Linked DNA regions of Homo sapiens: region 2 is linked to region 1. Evidence: promoter capture Hi-C in human tissues and cell types (Jung and others, 2019). All regions are on one chromosome and are shown on one strand. Each heading gives the region's core, a stretch centred on a gene start or on the middle of the fragment in contact. The rest is flanking DNA. Distances are from core to core; before and after follow the strand shown.

Region 1 (5,172 bases), core at 2,653-5,152:
GAGCTGAAATGTAGACTAACAGTGGGTAAATCAGAGTTTAAAGTAGATGGTCTTTAAGGTCTTTTTATGTTCTAAAATGTGCAAAGTCAGCTAGTATCTAATTCTCAACCAGCAGTGGTTGAGTGGATTCTCCTACACCCGAGGGGAGCTGGGTGGACAGTCTCTGGCATGTGGCTCCCCCTGCAGTTCAGTTATATGTTATGACCACCCCACTTTAGAACCCTCTTAGCCACCCAAGTAGGCGCTGGACATTGTCATTCCACTGTCACGTGCATTCAACAAATACTTATTAAGATGGCTCACAATTCCTTTTAAAACACGCAAGCTGAGAGATAATTATAATTGTGCTCATTCCATCGACTTCTAAAGACTGAGATTTCTAAATAATTTTAAGGCCAAATGAAGGACATTGCAGGAATATTGATTCCAGCTTTGTGCAAGAAATAGTTTTTTGCAATGAGAGTGGTTTAATAGAATGAGGAGCCTTGTGAAAGTGATTCCTTTGGTTCTAGTGCTACACACTCATAATTGGAATACTGACTGTAATGGACGCCGTAGGATAAGATTCCCAAAGTAGAAGAAACTAGACTGACTTATGAGGCCCTTCTAACTCCAAAATGCCATAATTTTAAAGCCCGATAGTAGAAGAATGATGTAAGATGAAGAAATGTCTTCTGAGCTGAGAAATGCAGCAGCTCTAGAGTTCTGATTATTTCAACTTTCAACCACTTCCCAAGGACTGAGTTATTAACTGTAAAATAGCCAAAAATGAACACAAGTGGTTCTCGTTATCAAGAAAATTCATGATAGCACATAAGAATCAGAACTTCTAAAGAAGATTAATTAGGGGGTTGATTATTTGCATTGCAAAACAATTCCTGACTTCATGAAATCATTTTTGGATACTAGAGTTCCTGTGAGCATCTTAGCATCGATTTATAGGTCACCAGTCACTTAGCCAAGGTGCTTGGGAGAGTAAACTCTTAACTAACCACCGCTCTTTAGTGCTTATTTGGAAATAATAAACATCTCAGATGTTTACTATTTCCTAATTGTCATTAGGAAAACAATATAATTTCACTACAGGTATTTAGACACTCCATCAGAAAACACAAAACATCCAAAAATTCAATGCAGAAATAACTACAATTTCTTGAGTACTATAATATGTCAAAAATACCATTGCATTTATCCTCACATAATCCTTGTAAAGCAATATATTATTATCTCAGCTTGGTCAAGTAATTTATTCAGCAGCACTAAATTGCATACAGCCCAAATCTTTCTGATTCTTTCCCTTACACCAAGTTACCCCAATCAACATCTCTTAGAATAAAATTGCTCACAGACAGCTTGGAGACCATGTGTGTTTGGGTTAATTTTTGCCCTTAAAAGATTTTCAATATGTGTTGCCAGTGTTTAAATGTTAGAATTCCTGTAAAAGTCTGGATGTCCTGGCTGTCTCAAAGAATCAGAAGGTCTGGAAGCCGTGTCCCTTCAGTCCTGATGGTGACAGGCTGGGTGGGTCCCACCTCAGCAGGGGCTTGAGTTCTGCAGATTGTGCTGGTTCCCACCCCTCTGTGTTGCATCCCCTGAAGGGAAGCGAGTGTCATCTGGGATTTATCCCCTCCCATCCAGCCCTCATTGCTTACGTTGTTATCTACCTGGCACCTGTTGGCACTGCATTTACAACCCCAAATAAAATCACTCTTCCACTTCCCTTGCCCTAATTCAGATTCCAAATGCTCTGGTTCTGTATGTCTCAAACTCATTTTTGCATTGTTCTCATTTCCCGAGAGTAGTTGGGCTTAAGGAATATTCATCCTAAAATTCTTCTGAACACAAGTAATTCTATGCCATTGTTTCCTCACCTGTTGGGGAGTTTTTGCCTCTGCACTTAATAGCCCATCTTGTTTTCATTTCTTCCCGCTCCTGGAGGGCTAGGTTTGGTGTTGCTGGTGATGGTGGGGGAGGAAGAAATGCCTTCAAGTCATCTCTGGGATGACCAATGAGCTGTGACCAGCAAGCTGGGACCACTGAGCTGGTGGAATGGCCTTAGTGAGTAATAGCGGTGATGTGTCAGCCTTTTTCTGGCCCAGGAACAGCCAAGCCTCTTATATTTCAGCGGCCTAGTTCCCAATAGACCTTGAAGGCCCTCCAGGTCTTCTTTCCACCTACCCCTTGCTCCATACCACCACCTTCCACCCCATAATATTATAGAATGACACCTAGTCAGATGAAATGATACAACTTAATTTTATTAGGACAAGGCTGATGGGCACTGGAGTGGCACCTTCCAGGGCCAGGAGAGGCACTGGGGAGGGGTCGGTCACAGGATGCCACGCGGGCACCTAGAAGCCACAGCTACCCTCTACAGAGCGGCACTGCACCATGCGCAGGAATGTCTCGACCTTGTCCATGTCCTTCCTGAAGCAGTAGAGCAGCCCGTAGTTCTTGAGCAGTGCGTCATGGTTGTGTGAGTTTGTGTCAAACTTGCTGTAGGTCTGCTTGAGGATCTGCCCAGTCCGGCGGCTGCCGTCTTCCAGCCTCTGCAAAGTGAAGGAAGAGAAGGAGAGGCCAAGCGCTTGGGCACTGTTCCCTCCCTCTCTCATTCATCCATTTTCCTCCCTCCCCTTCAGGGTGTAGAGAAGGGCCTGGAGGATTCACCAGGCGAAATGAAGAATAAGGTGAGTTCTCTTGGGTCAGCGCCTGACTGCTACAAAGAGGGCAGCAGTGTTTCTCTCCCCCAGCCCTCTAAGCCAGTGGGGTTCCAGGATTGGCGACCCCTGGCGCCACCCTCACCCCCATCAGCGTTTGGATGCCTTCCTCTAGGTCCTTTAGGAGGTGATAGTCATCGCTGTCCGAGGTGTCATACACCAGGTTGTTGGCGAACATACTCCTGAGGAACCGCACGGGCTCCAGCCACGACTCGATGAGCAGCAGGGAGATGCGGAGCAGCTCTAGATTCTGCAGGGGAAGGACCGGCAGTGGCTGTGCTGCCCGGGAGCCCTGACCACAGGTCTCCCCCATCCCCGCCTAGGGGAGACGGCATCCACTCACGGATTTCTGTTGCGTTTCCTCCATGTTGGAGGGTGTCGGAATAGAGTCTGAGAAGCAGAAGGAGGTCTGGGAGTCATGCAGGAATGAATACTTCTGGTCCTTTGGGATATAGGTTTCTTCCTAGGAGAAGGACCCCCCACCAAGAAGGACTGCTGGTTTCTATGCTGGAGACCAGCTCCCATTGTTGCTTTTCTGGGAACCTGGCTCAGCCTATGCTCATCTGCCTGCATTTTCGCTTCAGAAAACAACCCTGAGCTCCTTAGTCTCCTCCCATTACTTCCCCAGTGGGGGAAAGTCACCCCTTCTTGCCACCCCTGACCCGCACCCATTCCCCAAGAACTTACAAACTCCTGGTAGGTGTCAATGGCCAGCTGGTGCGCGCGATGGGCTTGGAGCATAGCGTGGTCAAAAAGCCTGGATAACGGAACGGTTTGGACGGCACCAGCCTCTTGAAGCCAGGGCAGGCAGAGCAGGGCAAAAGCCAGGAGCAGGGACGTCCGGGAGCCTGGGGAGAAACCGGAGGGCAATGGAGGGAGCCGGAGAGGAAGAGGCCAGCGCTCTCCCTGCTCCAGGAGCTGTTTGTTTTTTTCTCTCTCTCCATCCCTCCAGAGACCAGGAACATTCAGAGATTGGCCAAATATCTGGCCTTAGATGGCGATACTCACATTCATAAGCCCCAAACCTGAGGGTTAGTGCCCCCGTCCCATCTACAGGGCGCTGCCTCTCCCCTCAGGACACGTTGTGCCCAAAGGGATTTTAGGGGCGCTTACCTGCAGCCATTGCCGCTAGGTGAGCTGTCCACAGGACCCTGAGTGGTTCGGGGAGTTGGGCCTTGGGATCCTAGAGCCGGTCTCTTGTGGGCCCTTTTTATACCCTGGCCAGTTCTCTCTCCCTGCTTGACCCCACCTGTTTCTGTGTACATTTATGCATGGGGCCACTGACGGGCTTGTGCTAATGGATAATTTGGAAGCTCCTCCCACACATGCTGGGATCATGCCCCCTGGCTTGTCGTCTTTCCCTTCTCACCATCACCAGTGTTGTAAGGATTGTGCACAGAGTGTCAGCCACAGACTCCACCCAACTTGTCCTCTCTTTAAGGGTCAGGTGGGTGCCCTCTGGCCGCAGGCCATGTTGGTCAACCTGAATGCGGGGAAGGCTGTCAGGATAGCCAGTCCTTGAGACCCCTACCGACCCCATTCCACTCTCTATCCTATTCCTTTCCTCCTCCCCGCGTGTTTAACTTCCACCCACCAGACAGAATGTGTGTGTTGGGAAAAGGGGCCAAGCACAGCCAATAGATTGTGGGGGTTCTGAGCACCATTGAGTCCTGAATTCCACTTTTGCTGATGACTCCTGGGCCCACCTGAGTCAGCTGGATGCAGTGCTAACACTGACCACTAGAGAGAACCAACCCCACACATTGCTCTCCCCTTTCCCTGAACCTTGGGGCGGAGGCGGTGGGGCTCCCCCAGGTCACTGGGGACGAAGAACCCAGACTCAAGGTATTGCCTCAGCTCCTTGGACCTGCAGCAGAGACACAAACCAAGAAACAGAAATCCCGGGAACAGACACGGACCACAAGCGCTTCCTCCCACAGCCCTGAAACCATCAGAGAATCTCAAGGTTGGAAGAGCTCTTGAAGATTTGAGTCTCAGGGGAACATCACACTCTGGGGACTGTTGTGGGGTGGGGGGAGGGGGGAGGGATAGCTTTAGGAGATATACCTAATGCTAAATGACAAGTTAATGGGTGCAGCACACCAGCATGGCACAGGTATACACATGTAACTAACCTGCACATTGTGCACATGTACCCTAAAACTTAAAGTAAAAGAATAATAATAATTAAAAAAAAAGAAAAAAAAGATTTGAGTCTCTTCCCAGCTTTGGAACTCAGAACACATCACGCCGAAAGATGCCCTATCCAGCCATGGAAGCCCGTCCTCTTTTGTCTCTTCCTCCTTTCCAGACCTGTGTAGAGCTTATCCAGTTGTCAAAGGCCTGCCTGTGCATTCTCACGTCTGATCTGCCACTTGTCTTGTGTAGGAGGTATGAGTATCATCCCATTTCACAGATCAGGAGACTGAGGCTCAGAGAGACTGATTACATGAGC
Region 2 (5,167 bases), core at 2,525-5,024, 240 kb after region 1:
ACTCCTTTGAACTGTAAGGCCCATTTTAATGACCAAGCATAAACTGATGGGCCCCACACAGTAAGCTATGGCTGCTTCACTTGGTAGCAATAAGATGCTCACACAAAAGAAAGCCTATTCTGATACTGACTTTTTCATGTCAATATTACATCAGATTTCTGTAATTTCAGCATAGGTTTTCTATTATCTAGGCTTCTCTGAGAAGCGATCTTTATGCAGCCTCACACGTTTGAATAGAGATTGGAAAGCACAAGAAACTGCTGGGAAGACTGTGCTGGCACAACCAAACCTTCCGAGTTGAGGCTCGAAAACAGGACTCAGAAAAAGGGGCAAAGCATGAGGAACCGGCCAAGAGCGAACAACGTTGCTTTCTCCAGCTTATCAAGTGGTCGGCAGGAAACAGAAGCAGGAAAGAATTACCAGCCAGAAGATAGCAAACCTATGGGCTCAAAGAGGAGGCCTTTCCAGACATCAAAGGAAGAACTCCCTCGTGAAAAGGGAAAAATGGCTGTCCCAGGCAGGAATGGACAAGGGACCATATTATAAAATATTTTTTAAAAGTTTGTTTTTATTTTTTACATTGACATATAAAATTTATATATACTTATGGTATACAACATGATGTTCTGATATATGTACACATTGTGGAATGGCTATAATGATCCTATAAAGGATATTCTCTGCTGTCATTCTCAGTTTTCCCAGGAATCTCTCTTTCTAAAGTCACTACCCTGGTCAGGCTTCCGCCTAGCCTGGAGGTCATCCAATGTTTTTTTTTTTTTTTGAGACAGAGTTTGACTCTTGTTGTCTAAGCTGGAGTGCAATGGCGCAATCTCGGCTCACGGCAACCTCCACCTCCTGGGTTCAAGCGATTCTCCTGCCTCAGCCTCCCGAGTAGCTGGGATTACAGGCACATGCCACCATGCCCAGCTAATTTTTTGTATTTTTAGTAGAAACGAGGTTTCACCATGTTAGCCAGGCTGGTCTCAAACTCCTGACTTTAGGTGATCCATCCACCTCAGCCTCCCAAAGTGCTGGGATTACAGGCATGAGCCATCGCGCCCGGCCAGGTCATCCAATCTTATTGCCATCTTCTCTAGGTCCCAGAAGTGGACCTGGGCATCTGGATTGTGGGGCAAGGTGGCTAAGCTTCCACATTTGTTTTTTCTTTTAAAAACTGAAGAATAGCAACATCTCTCTAAACACTAAGAAAGCAAAACAAATATTGAGAATTTCAAAAGTAAGAGTTATACAAATATTAAGGGAGACTATTTAATTTAAAAAAAAATTGGTGGCAGCCAAAGAAATCATCAGGAAGTAAACCAAACTCAAAAACCTGATAATCCACTGCTCCTCATCTCTTACCTCCATTGCTCCTCATCTCTTACCCTCATGGGCAGACAGCAATAATGTAACAACTGGTGCTAGGAGACAATCAGGAATAATTAAGGAAGAGTTAAAATATGTTTGGCTCGTGGTGTTCAAGAAGGAAGCAGTGGCCGGGAGCAGTGGCTCATGCCTGTAATCCCAGCACTTTGGGATGCCAAGGTGGGCAGATCACTTGAGGTCAGGAGTTCAAGACCAGCCTAGCCAACGTGGTAAAACCCCATCTCTATTAAATACTCAAAAATTAGCCGGACACGGTGGCACATGCTTGTAATCCCAGCTCCTCGAGTGGGTGAGGCAGGAGAATCACTTGAACCCAGGAGGTGGACAGCGCAGTGAGCTGAGATTGCACCATTGCACTCCAGCTTGGGCGACAGACCGAGACTCTGTCTCAAAAAAAAAAAAAAAGAAGAAGAAGAAGGAAGCAGAGTATAACTGCTGAGGAGGTTGTCAGTAAACATTACTATATTTTAAGTTATGGGATTGTATTTCCATCATTTGGAAACTCACCTATGATGCTGCGGCTAAACGATTCAATAGATACTTGTTAAGTTCAGTGTAGTTCCTGAGCAGTATAATGTGGTTGTTAAAAAGGTAGATTGTGGAGCCAGACCACCTCAGGCAATCACTTACCTCTCTGTGCCTTCAGTTTCTCATCCATAAAATGGGGATAATGCTAATTAACTTTAAAAAGTTGTTGGGAAAAGCTTCTGCACAGCTGAACACATGGAGATTCCTGATGGGTGGGGCATACCCCAAGGGCATGAGATCTCCATGCCCCTTCCCGCATGCCTTGCCCTATGCGTCTCTTCATCTGTATCCTTTATCATAAACCAGTAAATGCAAAAGTCACCAACTCTAGTCTAATTGGAGTGGGCTACACACAGACTCTGAGGCCTGGTGTGAGGCTCACACTGTCTGCTCTGGTAGACAAGAGATCATCAATGCTGGAGATCACAAACTTGGGTGTGCTCTGGAGGTGGAGGCTTAATCTAGCTGAAAGAAACCTCTGGGAATGGATATCAGAAGATCGGGCCTTAATATATTTCCACTGTGACTAGCAGGCTTTTTTCCCAAGAAGGTGATCCAAAGGATGATCTAAACAAAAGCTGTATTTTAAATATTTTAACAGTTACTGGTTAGTTGGTTCCCTGGCTATCTAGTTACCAGTGCGGCATCATGCAGTGACCTATATGTTTAAGCTGTTAAATGTGCTACCCCCACCAATAATGAGATAGACTTTCATGAGAACTGTGCAGCTGTGTGGATGTTTGTTTTTATGTTCCCTTAACCACTGCATATTGCCATTGAATGAGATGGATCAGTGGATATTTTAGGATGAGGTTAAAAACATTTTATTAAATTCAACCATGATTCACATTACTTTTGCTATCCTAGACCATTACAAATTATGAATAAAACAAGTATACATAATTAGTGGCTCCAAGTATTCGCAGAGTTAAACATTTCCAGCTATGGCCAAATCTCCCTGGTATCTAACACTTTATTTTTCCAGAGCATTTTGCCCTTTACGTAAATCTTTTTTTTTTTTTGAGACAGAGTCTCGCTCTGTCACCCAGGCTGGAGTGCAGTGGCGTGATCCCGGCTCACTGCAACCTCTGCCTCCCAGGTTCCAGCAATTTTCCCGCCTCAGCCTCTGGAGTAGCTGGGATTATAGGCACGAGTCACCATGCCGCCAGGCAATTTTTTTGTTTTGTTTTGTTTTGGAGACAGAGTCTCACTCTGTCGCCCAGGCTGGAGTGCAGTGGCGTGATCTCGGCCCACTGCAACCTTCACCTCCTGGGTTCAAGCAATTCTCTGCCTCAGCCTCCCGAGTAGCTGGGATTACAGGCGCCCACCACCATGCCCGGCTAATTTTTGTATTTTCAGTAGAGATGGGGGTTTCACCATCTTGGCCAGGCTGGTCTTGAACTCCTGACCTTGTGATCCACCCACCTCGGCCTCCCAAAGTGCTGGGATTACCGGCGTGAACCACCGTGCCCGGTGACCTTTACCTAAATCTATGCCACAAAGTCCTCTGTGTCCCTAGAATAATTCCATGGGCTTTCAAAGACTGTAATAAGAAGGTAAATGCTAAAAAAAAAAAAAAAAAAGCTTTTGCAAGGAGTGTTGAGTCAACATAAGTAAAGCTCTTGAACGGGCCTAATATACAGTAAGCATCATGTAAGTGTCAGTTACTATTATTCATTAAGAACTGTATGAGACACTAGGATCTAATCACAACAAATGAGATCTGGTTTCCTGCTTTCATGGAGCTTACAGTCCAATAGGAGACCCCAGTAATCAATAATGACACAAACATAAAATGACAAATTGTAGTAAGTGCCATGAAAGGGACATACTGGAAACTGCGACAGCATAACAGAAGAAGAGCATCTGGTCTTGTGATGGTGGGGGAAGCACAGTGTTAAAAATGATGTTTGAGTTAAGATCTATAGGAAAGGGAGAAGGAAAGAAGAATTTCCTGGGCAGAGGGAATAGCCTATGCAAAATTCTGAGACTGCAGAGAATTTGTTGTGTTTGAGGACCCGGTGGACCAGTGTAGCTGGACAGAGAAGGCAGAGGGGATATGGGACACGGTGAGGTTGGGGGAGAAGTCCCAGAATGGCGTGGGCCACAAGAGTCAGAATCTTTTTTTTACGTGTCTTATTTGTTATCTATGCAGCTGAAGGAAAGAACAGGAAGGTTGCTGTTCACATCGTTGTAAAGCCACCTGGAAGAAAAAAAAGCACTCTCCCTAAGGTGAGGCGTGTAATACACCAACCACAATCTGTTCACACTCTCGGTGAGTCTCCTCCAGTGTTTTAATTTATACTAACATTCGACTGATGTTGCCTAGCTGGTTTACAGCTGAATATTAGCAGAACACATCAGAACTTCGTAGGAGAGCGTAGTAAATATGGCTGTTTTTGTGATGAAATGTGGCCTTCAGAACAAACCCCAAGGCAGGTTTTCTTGCTTCCTAAGACTCCTCATTTGAGGGGGAGCCATTTCTCTGACTAGCCATCATGCATGGAATCAGAAAGCTCCCTCTGAAGGGTTGAGGAGTTAAACCTGCACCTTCCCGTCTTTTTAATCTTCCAGGCGCCCCATCTCCACAGTACCTGCAGTCAGTGCCAGGACTATTTTCATTACAAGAGGCAGAAATCTTGGGGATACTAAACTTACAGGACAAGGTAAGTCATTGGCTCATGGTCTCACATTACTCAAGTAGGCTGGCAAGGACTTCAGGATTTGCCAATCTCTTCCAGGCACTCCCTGCCTCATACTTCTTCCTGTTGGCTGACTCTTCTATTTCAACTCCTGTGTGCTAGTTCACTTACTCCAACCCTGCCCCTAAGCTGGACTCTTATCCTACATATATGCAGAAAGAAGGGTCCTGTTACACACAAGGCAATGCCGCCCCAAGGCCTGTAAAACTCCTGGCTTCAAGGGGTTTGCCGTCTAGCAGGAGAGTCGTGTAATGCAGAAAAAAAGACGGCAAGTTCCATGGCCGAACTTCCCGAAAGCTGACTTGGCAGCATATCCAGGTCCTGCCCAGAGCAGTTCCAAGAGTCTGGTCCCACCCTACCCTGCTCAGCTGTCTTCTCACTCCTTGCCCTAGCCTGTGTCCATATAGCTTCAAAACCTGTTATTTTATCCTCTCAAAACTCTTTGGTTTAAAAACAAAACCAAAGTTCCTCAGGTATCCTCATGAGTCTGGAACATATAGATGCTTTTGGGGTGAATGAAGCTGACAGAAGATGAGGTGGGCACACAG

What was found. The method cuts DNA at HindIII sites, captures the fragments that hold promoters and counts their contacts. A contact is called where the count stands out against the background at its distance.
Region 2: a fragment that was not itself captured here is called in contact with the fragment with the promoter of CSH2 in region 1 in 1 of the 25 tissues and cell types used here (aorta).

Annotation. Positions count from the first base shown.
Region 1 is chr17:63,869,775-63,874,946 of GRCh38, forward strand. CSH2 (chorionic somatomammotropin hormone 2) reads right to left here and starts at 3,903. Exons shown (of 5, transcript NM_020991.4): 1 at 3,831-3,903; 2 at 3,405-3,565; 3 at 3,061-3,180; 4 at 2,803-2,967; 5 at 2,242-2,549. The coding sequence starts at 3,840. The coding sequence ends at 2,352. The HindIII fragment of the contact is 22,462 bases long and covers 1-5,172 here.
Region 2 is chr17:64,110,589-64,115,755 of GRCh38, forward strand. The region is part of intron 1 of ERN1 (endoplasmic reticulum to nucleus signaling 1); the gene reads right to left. Among named protein-coding and RNA genes, the nearest start is that of ERN1, 17 kb to the right of the region's middle. The HindIII fragment of the contact is 4,307 bases long and covers 1,622-5,167 here.